Linked DNA regions of Homo sapiens: regions 1 and 3 are each linked to region 2. Evidence: promoter capture Hi-C in human tissues and cell types (Jung and others, 2019). All regions are on one chromosome and are shown on one strand. Each heading gives the region's core, a stretch centred on a gene start or on the middle of the fragment in contact. The rest is flanking DNA. Distances are from core to core; before and after follow the strand shown. Region 1 overlaps SLC5A1 (solute carrier family 5 member 1). Region 2 holds the start of RFPL2 (ret finger protein like 2). Region 3 has its middle 36 kb from the start of SLC5A4.

Evidence for each region. Contacts are between HindIII fragments. The study calls those that stand out against the background at their distance.
Region 1: a contact is called between a fragment that was not itself captured here and the fragment with the promoter of RFPL2 in region 2, in 2 of the 25 tissues and cell types used here (IMR-90 fibroblasts and spleen).
Region 3: a contact is called between a fragment that was not itself captured here and the fragment with the promoter of RFPL2 in region 2, in 9 of the 25 tissues and cell types used here (IMR-90 fibroblasts, aorta, bladder and 6 more).

Annotation. Positions count from the first base shown.
Region 1 is chr22:32,076,435-32,079,134 of GRCh38, reverse strand. The region is part of intron 5 of SLC5A1 (solute carrier family 5 member 1); the gene reads right to left. Among named protein-coding and RNA genes, the nearest start is that of SLC5A1, 35 kb to the right of the region's middle. The HindIII fragment of the contact is 5,368 bases long and covers 1-2,700 here.
Region 2 is chr22:32,203,674-32,206,503 of GRCh38, reverse strand. It overlaps RFPL2 (ret finger protein like 2), which reads left to right and starts at 1,431. Exons shown (of 5, transcript NM_001394555.1): 1 at 1,431-1,797. SLC5A4-AS1 (SLC5A4 antisense RNA 1) reads right to left here and starts at 1,389. Exons shown (of 4, transcript NR_149072.1): 1 at 1,257-1,389. The HindIII fragment of the contact is 14,140 bases long and covers 1-2,830 here.
Region 3 is chr22:32,289,868-32,292,567 of GRCh38, reverse strand. It overlaps a transcript of SLC5A4 not described here. Among named protein-coding and RNA genes, the nearest start is that of SLC5A4, 36 kb to the right of the region's middle. The HindIII fragment of the contact is 6,132 bases long and covers 1-2,700 here.

The DNA of each region.
Region 1 (2,700 bases), core at 56-2,555, 130 kb after region 2:
TTTGTTTGTTTTCTTTTCTTCATGTTCAGAGAGTTTTACAGTTTACCAAGGACATTTAGGCACATGCGTTATTTTGATCCTCAAAACAACATTGAAAAGTAAGGGACCTCCTTTCTGCTTTCTGGAATATTTTCTACAGAGAGCAAGGTCTTTTTTTTTTTTTTTTTTTTTTTTTTTTTTGGAGACAGAGTCTTGCTCTTTCGCCAGGCTGGAGTGCAGTGGCACAATCTCGGCTCACTGCAACCTCCATCTCCCAGGTTCAAGTGATTCCCCTGCCTCAGCCTCCTGAGTAGCTAGGACTACAGTTGCGTGCCACCATGCCTGGCTAATTTTTTTTGTATTTTAGTAGAGACAGGGTTTCACCCTGTTGGCCAGAATGGTCTCAATCTCCTGATCTTGTGATCCACCCACCTCAGCCTCCCAAACTACTGGGATTACAGGCCTGAGCCACCATGCTCAGCCAGCAAGGTCTTTTTTAGCAACAAAGAAAAAGTTTTTAATTTACTTTTAAAATAAAATCTCAAATAAAATAATGTATGTGTGGGGGGTTAAAATAAACACCACAGGCCAGGCACAGTGGCTTATGCCTGTAATCCCAGCACTTTGGGAGGCTGAGGCAAGCAGATCACTTGAGGTCAGGAGTTTGAGACACCAGCCTGGCCAACATGGTAAAACCCTGTCTCTACTAAAAATACAAAAATTAGCCAGGTGTGGTGGCGCATGCCTGTAATCTCAGCTAACTGGGAGGCCGAGGCAGGAGAATTGCTTGAACCTGGGAGGCAGAGGTTGCAGTGAGCCGAGATTGTGCCACTGTACTCCAGCCTGGGTGATAGAGTTTTGCTCAAAAAAAAAGAAAAACAAATAAAAATTGAATAAATAAATAACCGCAGAAGTTACACACTGAAAAGTAAAAGTAGCCCAGAAGTGACCACTGTCAAGAGATTTTTGTCCACCAGAGGATTTTTAAATGGCTTTCTAAAAATTATATGTCAACAGTTATGTTCTGCAGCCCCTAAAAATAATAATTATGAAAACTGAAACTGGAACATTTACAATTTGATGGTAGGGGTGGGGAGAAGACAACAAAATGATGCGCATATTCTAATTGCAACTTTGTGAAAGAATACACACAATTTGAGCAAGGCCAAAATATGAAAATATTGGTATTGGAGTTAAAGTGTGCATCTCCCACCCCAAGATTTTTAAATGCCAATGTTACATTTTTCCTACAGTTTCAAAAGTGCAGGAAGCAGAAATTTTAAAACAGAATATATTCTTTATGGCTATACGGGTACCCATATATATATGTAGTAAAAATATAAAAACATAGTCTAGAAGAATCCACACCAAGTTCAAGACAGCATTCACCTTTTAGGAAAGAGGAAAATGAGACCAAGAAAAGGGTATAAATAGGTCTTCGGCTATATCTGTAATGTTTTATTTCTTTTCTACAAATAATATATTGTTAAGATCTATAAAATCTGAGTGGTGAATATAAGGGTGTTTGCTATATTCTTTCTGCATTCCTGTATATTTGAAGTATTTCATTAAATTTTTTATCATAAAAATAGGGGACTGTATAGGGAATGCAGCACCAGCTTTGATATAAAAGAACTGTCCTGTCATCCTATGAGACCATTTGTTTCACAGCTTATCCCAGATTGCTCTTTCCCTAAATTAATGTTAGCCCTTAAAAGAGAGTAGGGGGAAGGATGGAGGGAGGGAAAGGAAAGGGAAGGGAGAGAAGGAAAGAGAGAACGAAAGGAAGGAAGAAGGGGAAAGGAAGAAAGTGAAAAAAGGGGGAGAGAGGAAGGGGGAGGGAAGGAAGGAAAGAAAGGGAAGGTAACAGAGGGAGAGAGAAAGAAAGGAGAGAAGGAGGGAGTGAAGGAAGGGAGGGAGGGAAGGAAGGAAGGAAAGAAGGAAGGAAAGAGGGAAAGGGGAGGCAGAAGGGAAAGAAGAAAATTTCTCCAATGCTGCTAAGCAAAACCAACTTGAAGTGAAATAAAAAATTATGGTCCTCTAGATCAAGAATTTGCAAACTTTCTCTGTAAAGGGCCCGGGAGTAAATGTTTTATGCTTTGCATTTACTGTCTCTGTCACACTCTGTTGTTAAAGCATAAAAGCAGCCACAGACAACACAAACAATGGGCTTGGCTGGGCTCCAGTAAAACTTTACTTACAAAAATAGATCGTGTGTTGGATTTAGCCCAGGGGTGTTGTTCCCATCACGTTGAAAATTTGGCTGAACGATGTCCATGGAATTCATGGGGAATAAAAATACAGACCCCCGTTGGAAAGCATCTGCAAGTAACTGAGTCTCTGATTGGGAGCTTGGGCATGTTGCTTCGCCTTGGCTCTGATGTTTTGAGATCCAGTGATTTTATATGTGTGTGTTTGCTGTCCATTCTGGTCGTAACCAAGATGTATTTGAGCATTCGATAAATCCTGCCTAGCCTCGCAGTTTCAGATGGTGAAGCCCCATTACTCAAATTTCTCTTTCCACTTGTGAAAGTGAGTGGCCCTGGGAATGAGCATTCAAATCTTAAGCAAAAGCAAAAGCTCTTCTTTTCACCCAAGGATCCAAAATGGACAGCAGAATTGCTGTAAACATTTACTGTAGCTGTGATCTGTGATAACAGCCCTAGGAAACACAAATGGGGACATGAACATTCAGTCATCACATGTAAGTCATAAAATCTG
Region 2 (2,830 bases), core at 182-2,681:
GGCAACCCCAACCCGCCCCTGCCTCGGACACTGCAGCACCAATGGCACCCGCAACCCACCCCCTGCCTTGGGCAGCGCAGCCCGGGATAGCGCCCCCAACCCGCTCCCTGCCGTAGGCAGTGGCTGTAGACAGTGTAGCCATGGGTAGCGACCCCAACCAGACCCCTGCCGTGGGCAGTGATGCCCCGATATGGCACCCAAATCGCCCCCTACCCCGGGCAGTGCAACCCTGGATAGTGCCCCTACCTGCTCCCCACCAGGAGAAGCAGCCCAGGATAGCACCCTCAACCCACTTCCTGCCTCCAGGCAGTGCAGCCACAGATAGCACCCAAACTTACTCCCCACCTCGGGCAGTGCGGCCACAGACAGCTCACCTAAACCACCCCCTGCCAAGGGCAGTGTAGCCCCCTATAGTGCACCCAACCTGCCCCTGCTGCAGCCAGTGCAGCCCCAGATAGCACACCCACCCGCTCCCTGCTAGGCAGTACAGACCCCTGATAGCACCCAACCCACCCCTCCACCGCAGGCAGTGTACCCGGCCCTCAATAGCGCCCCCAACCAACGCCCCCACCCCCTCTCCATGGGCAGTCCAGCCCCGGTACCAATCCCAACAACCCCCCGCTACCTGTCTCAGTGTAGCCCCCAGAGAGCGCCCTCAACAACCCCCTCCCCACTGCCAGCAGTGTAGCACCCTATAGTGACCCTAACCCGTCCCCCACCACCAGCATTGCAGCCCCAAATAGTGCCCCCAACCCGCTCCCCACTGTGGGCAGTGCAGCCATGGATAGTGTCCCCAACCAGCTCCCAGATGCAGGCAATGATGCCCTGGATATCACGCCCGCCCCCGTCCCCCACAGGCAGAGTAGCACCGGATAGCAGCACCCACCCTCGCCACCAGCAGTGTTGCACCCACCAGCCCCCCACAACCTGTCCCCAACAAGGGCATCAGGGCATTGCAGCACCTGATAGTTCTACTAACTCACCCCCGCCCCCCGGCCGCGGGCAGTGCATCCCCAGATAGTGCCCCCAAAACTCCCCACTGCCGCAGGAATTACAGCTTCGGATAGCGCCCCAACCCATCTCCAGCCATAGGCTGGATAGCGCCCCCGGATAGCGCCCCCACCCCACTCCCCTCAGCGGGCAGTGACGCCCGAGGTACCACACTCAAGCAGCCCCCCAACACGGGCAGTGACGCCCTGGATAGGGCCCCCAACCCGCCCCCCACGCCACAGGCAGTACGGCCTGGGATAACGAACCTATTCTGCCACCTTTTCACCATTCTGGCTGCGCTGTAGTCACCCTCGCGGCCACCAACCGCAGCAGCGAGGTGAGCCACTGTAGGCTCCAGCCTCCAGCATGCGCGGTAGATGACTCTAGCCTCTGGCATGCGCGGCAAGTGGCTCCTCCTCCTTCTCCTCTAAGCCGGGCACAGAGCAGCTACGCAGGCCGACGCAGATGAGCCTGGAAGGGCAAGCCACCCCTCTTGGCATCCTTTATATACTGAGTTTAATGCAAATGAAGTTTCTCGACTACATAGTCTGATCGGATGAGAGAAACCTCTAGGCCTACTCTGATCGGGCTTTGTTATCTTGTTCTGATTGGTTATCCTAAGACTTGCTGTCATCCAGTCAGAACGTGAAAATAAAGCACAATCAGAGTAGACCTAGAGGTTTTTCTCTCATCCAATCTGAACATGTAGTCCAGAAACCTTACTTGCATAACCTCGGTCTGTGGGGGGAGGGGTTCTTGCCATTCCAGGCACTTCTGCGTCTGCCAGCCCATCTGCTCCATGCCCAGGTTAGAGGAGGAGTCACCTGTCCCACGCTGGAGGCTTGAAAGCCTGCAGCAGCATGGCTCGGCTCGCTGCCGTTGGTGGCGGTGAGGGAGACTAGACCGCAGCCAGAATGTAGAAAGGTGGCGGGGTGGATGAGCTATCCAGGGCTCACTGCCTGCGGCAGGGGGCGGGGAGGGGGACAGGTTGGATGCACGATCTGGAGCTGCACTGCCCGAGGTGGGAGCGGGGGCGGATTGAGGGCGCCATCGTGGGCTACAACCCGGTGGTGGGAGGCGTGTTAGGGGCAGTATTGGGTGCTGCACTGCCTACAGCACGGGAAGGTTGGGTGCTTTACCGGACGTCATTTCCCGCAGCCGCGGGGTGGCTTGCTGGGGGCGCTATCCGTGGCTGCACTGGTCGCGCTGGGGTACGGGTTGGGGGCGCTATCTGGGACATCAGTGCGCATGGCAGGGAACTTGTTGGCTGTGATATCCGAGGCGTCACTGCCCTTGGCTGGGGGCTGGTTGGGGGCTCTATCTATGGGCTACACTGCCTACAGCCAGGAGCGTGTTGGGGCGTTATCGGGGCGGACTGCCAGTGGCGGGGGTGGGGGTGCGGGTTGGGTGCTATCGGGGGGCTTCACTGCCTGGCAGGGAGTGGATTGGGTGCGCTATTTGGGGTTGGACTGCCGGCGGTGGTTGACTCGGTGGGAGGAGAGGGGCAGAGGGAATGGGTTGGATGCACTATCGGGAGCTACACTGCCCGAGGCGAGGGGGAGATGGGGGCGCCATCGTTGGCTACACCGCATGTAGTGGGGGGCGTGTAAGGAGCAGTAGTGCGTGTTGCATTGCTCATGGCGGGGGAGGGTTGGGTGCGTTATCCCGGGCGTCATTTCCCACAGCGGCGGGGGTCAGTGGAGGGGCTTGTTGAGGGCGCTATCCATGGCTGCACTGGTCGCTGAGGGGCAAGGATTGGGGGCGCTACCTGGGACATCAGTGCCATGGTGGGGAACTTGTTGGGTGTGTTATCCGAGGCATCACTCCCCATGGCTGGGGG
Region 3 (2,700 bases), core at 45-2,544, 86 kb before region 2:
GGGAAGTCCAAGATCAAGGCACTGGCAGATGTGGGGTCTGGGGAAGACTCACTCTCTGCCTCTAAGATAGCACCCTGTTGCTGTGTTCTCTGGGGATGAATGCTGTTTTCCAAACATATGGGGATTTTCTAGCATATACACACACACACATACACTAGAAAAAAACAAATATATATCTAGTATGTACATATTAGAAAATATGTGTGTACAGATTAGAAAATTCCTATAGTTCCATATACCATATATATTAGAAAAATATATATAATATCTAGTATATATTATATATAATATCTAGTATGTATTATATATAATATCTAGTATATATTATATATATAATATATAGAATATAATATATATATTATATAATATCTAGTATGTATTATATATAATATCTAGTATATATTATATATATAATATATAGAATATAATATATAATATCTAGTATATGTATTATATATTATATATAATATCTAGTATATATGTTATATATATATACTAAAACCCCGTCTCTACTAAAAATATAAAAAAATAGCCGGGCGTAGTGGTGCACACCTGTAATCTCAGCTTCTCAGGAGACTGAGGCACGAGAATCACTTGAACCCGGGAGGCAAAGGTTGCAGTGAGCCAAGATTGTGCCATTGCACTCCAGCCTGAGTGACAGAATGAGACTCCATCTCCAAAAAAAAAAAGATAGAAAAGAAAAATAAATTATATATATACATACATATATATACACACACACATATATATAAAATATAAAAATTTCCATACATTGGGAAAACAAGAAATATAAATAGGCTAAGGTCAAGGAATAAATCATAATGAAAAGTAGAATACATTTGAGTATAAGGGAATTGTTACATATTAAAACTTAGGTGATTCAGATAAATAAGTGCTTAAAAGAAAATTCAAGCTTAAGAGCCTATCTTGGTAAAGAAATCAAAGAACATCTAAATTAATGAAGAGACGTACCATGTTCATGAGTTGGAAGACAACACAGTAAATGTGTCAATTTTCCCCAAGTTGATACACAAGTTTGACTGAAAACTAATGTCAGCCATACTTCTCACAAATTAAAAATAGAACAGTTGACCCCGGCGCAGTGCCTCACGCCTGTAATCCCAGCACTTTGGGAGGCCAAGGTGGGTGGATCACGAGGTCAGGAGTTCAAGACCAGCCTGACCAATACGGTGAAACCCCGTCTCTACTATAAAAATACAAAAAATTGGCCAGGCATGGTGGCGCACGCCTGTAATCCCAGCTACTCGGGAGGCTGAGGCAAGAGAATCGCTTGAACCCGGGAGGCGGAGGGTGGCAGCCTGGGTAACAGAGAAAGACTCCATCTCAAAAAAAAAAAAAAAGAACAGTCAAACACAAAGTATATAAAAAGAGAACAATGAAGATAAATACACAACTAAAGAAAAAGAAAATAAACATAACACAGAGAGGATCAGCAAAGCCAAATGCTAGCTCTTTAAAAAAATAAAATTGATAAATCCCTGGCAAAACTCATATGATGAAAATGAAAGAAGACAAATTCCAATATCAGAAATTAAAAAGAAGACACCACTACACATCCAGCAAGCATAAAAAAGAGGCTGAAATGGTTCAAATGTATGTTTTCCCCCAAAATTAATATTTTGAAACCTAAGACCCAATGTGATAGTATTAAGAGTTGGGGCCCTTAGGAAGCGATTAAGTCCTGAGGATGGAACCCTCATGAATGGGATTAGTGACATTATAAAAGGGCTGGAGGGGACTTTCTGGGCCTTTTTGCCTTTCCATCTCTTCTATCATGTGAAGACACAGCATTCATCCTCAGAGGACACAGCAACAAGCTGCGATCTTGGAGGCAGAGAGCGAGTCTTCTGCACACCCCACATCTGCCAGTTCCCTGATCTTGGACTTCCCAGTATTCAGAACTGTGAGAAATAAATTTCTATTGTTTGTAAGTTACCGAGTCTGAGGTATTTTGTCACAGCAACCCAAAAGGACTAAAAAGGAAATTGTTATGAAAAAATCATATCCAAAGCATTTGAAAATATAAAATAAAAAGTACAAGTTTTCAAAGCTGATATTAGAAAAATAGAAATTTAAAGAGTCCTGTAGTAATAAAATCAATTGAATCCATAACCAAATCTTTCCCACTAAGAAAACCCCAGGGACAAGGATGAAGCTGGAAACCATCGTTCTCAGCAAACAAACTAACACAGGAAGAGAAAACACCACATGTCCTCATAAATGGGAGTTGAACAGTGAGAACACATGGACACAGGGAGGGGAACATCACACACCGGGGCCTGTCAGGGGATGGGGGCAAGGGGAGGGAGAGCATTAGGACAAACACCTAATGCATGCAGGGCTTAAAACCTAGATGACGGGTTGATAGGTGCAGCAAACCACCACGGCACATGTGTACTTATGTCACAAACCTGCACATTCTGTACATGCATCCCAGAACTTAAAGTAAAATAAAAGTAAAAAGAAAAAAAGAAAAACCCAGGCCCTACAAATTCAACCAAACATTTAAGGAAGAGATCATGCCAATCATAAGCTCTTCTAGAAACCACGCCAATCATACACAAGCTCTTCCAGAGAATAGAAAAGCAATAGAAAATGAATATTAAAGAGCATAAAATGGCCTCAATTCATTTTTGAGACTAGAATTACCCTGATACTAAAACCTGACAAAGTAAGTCT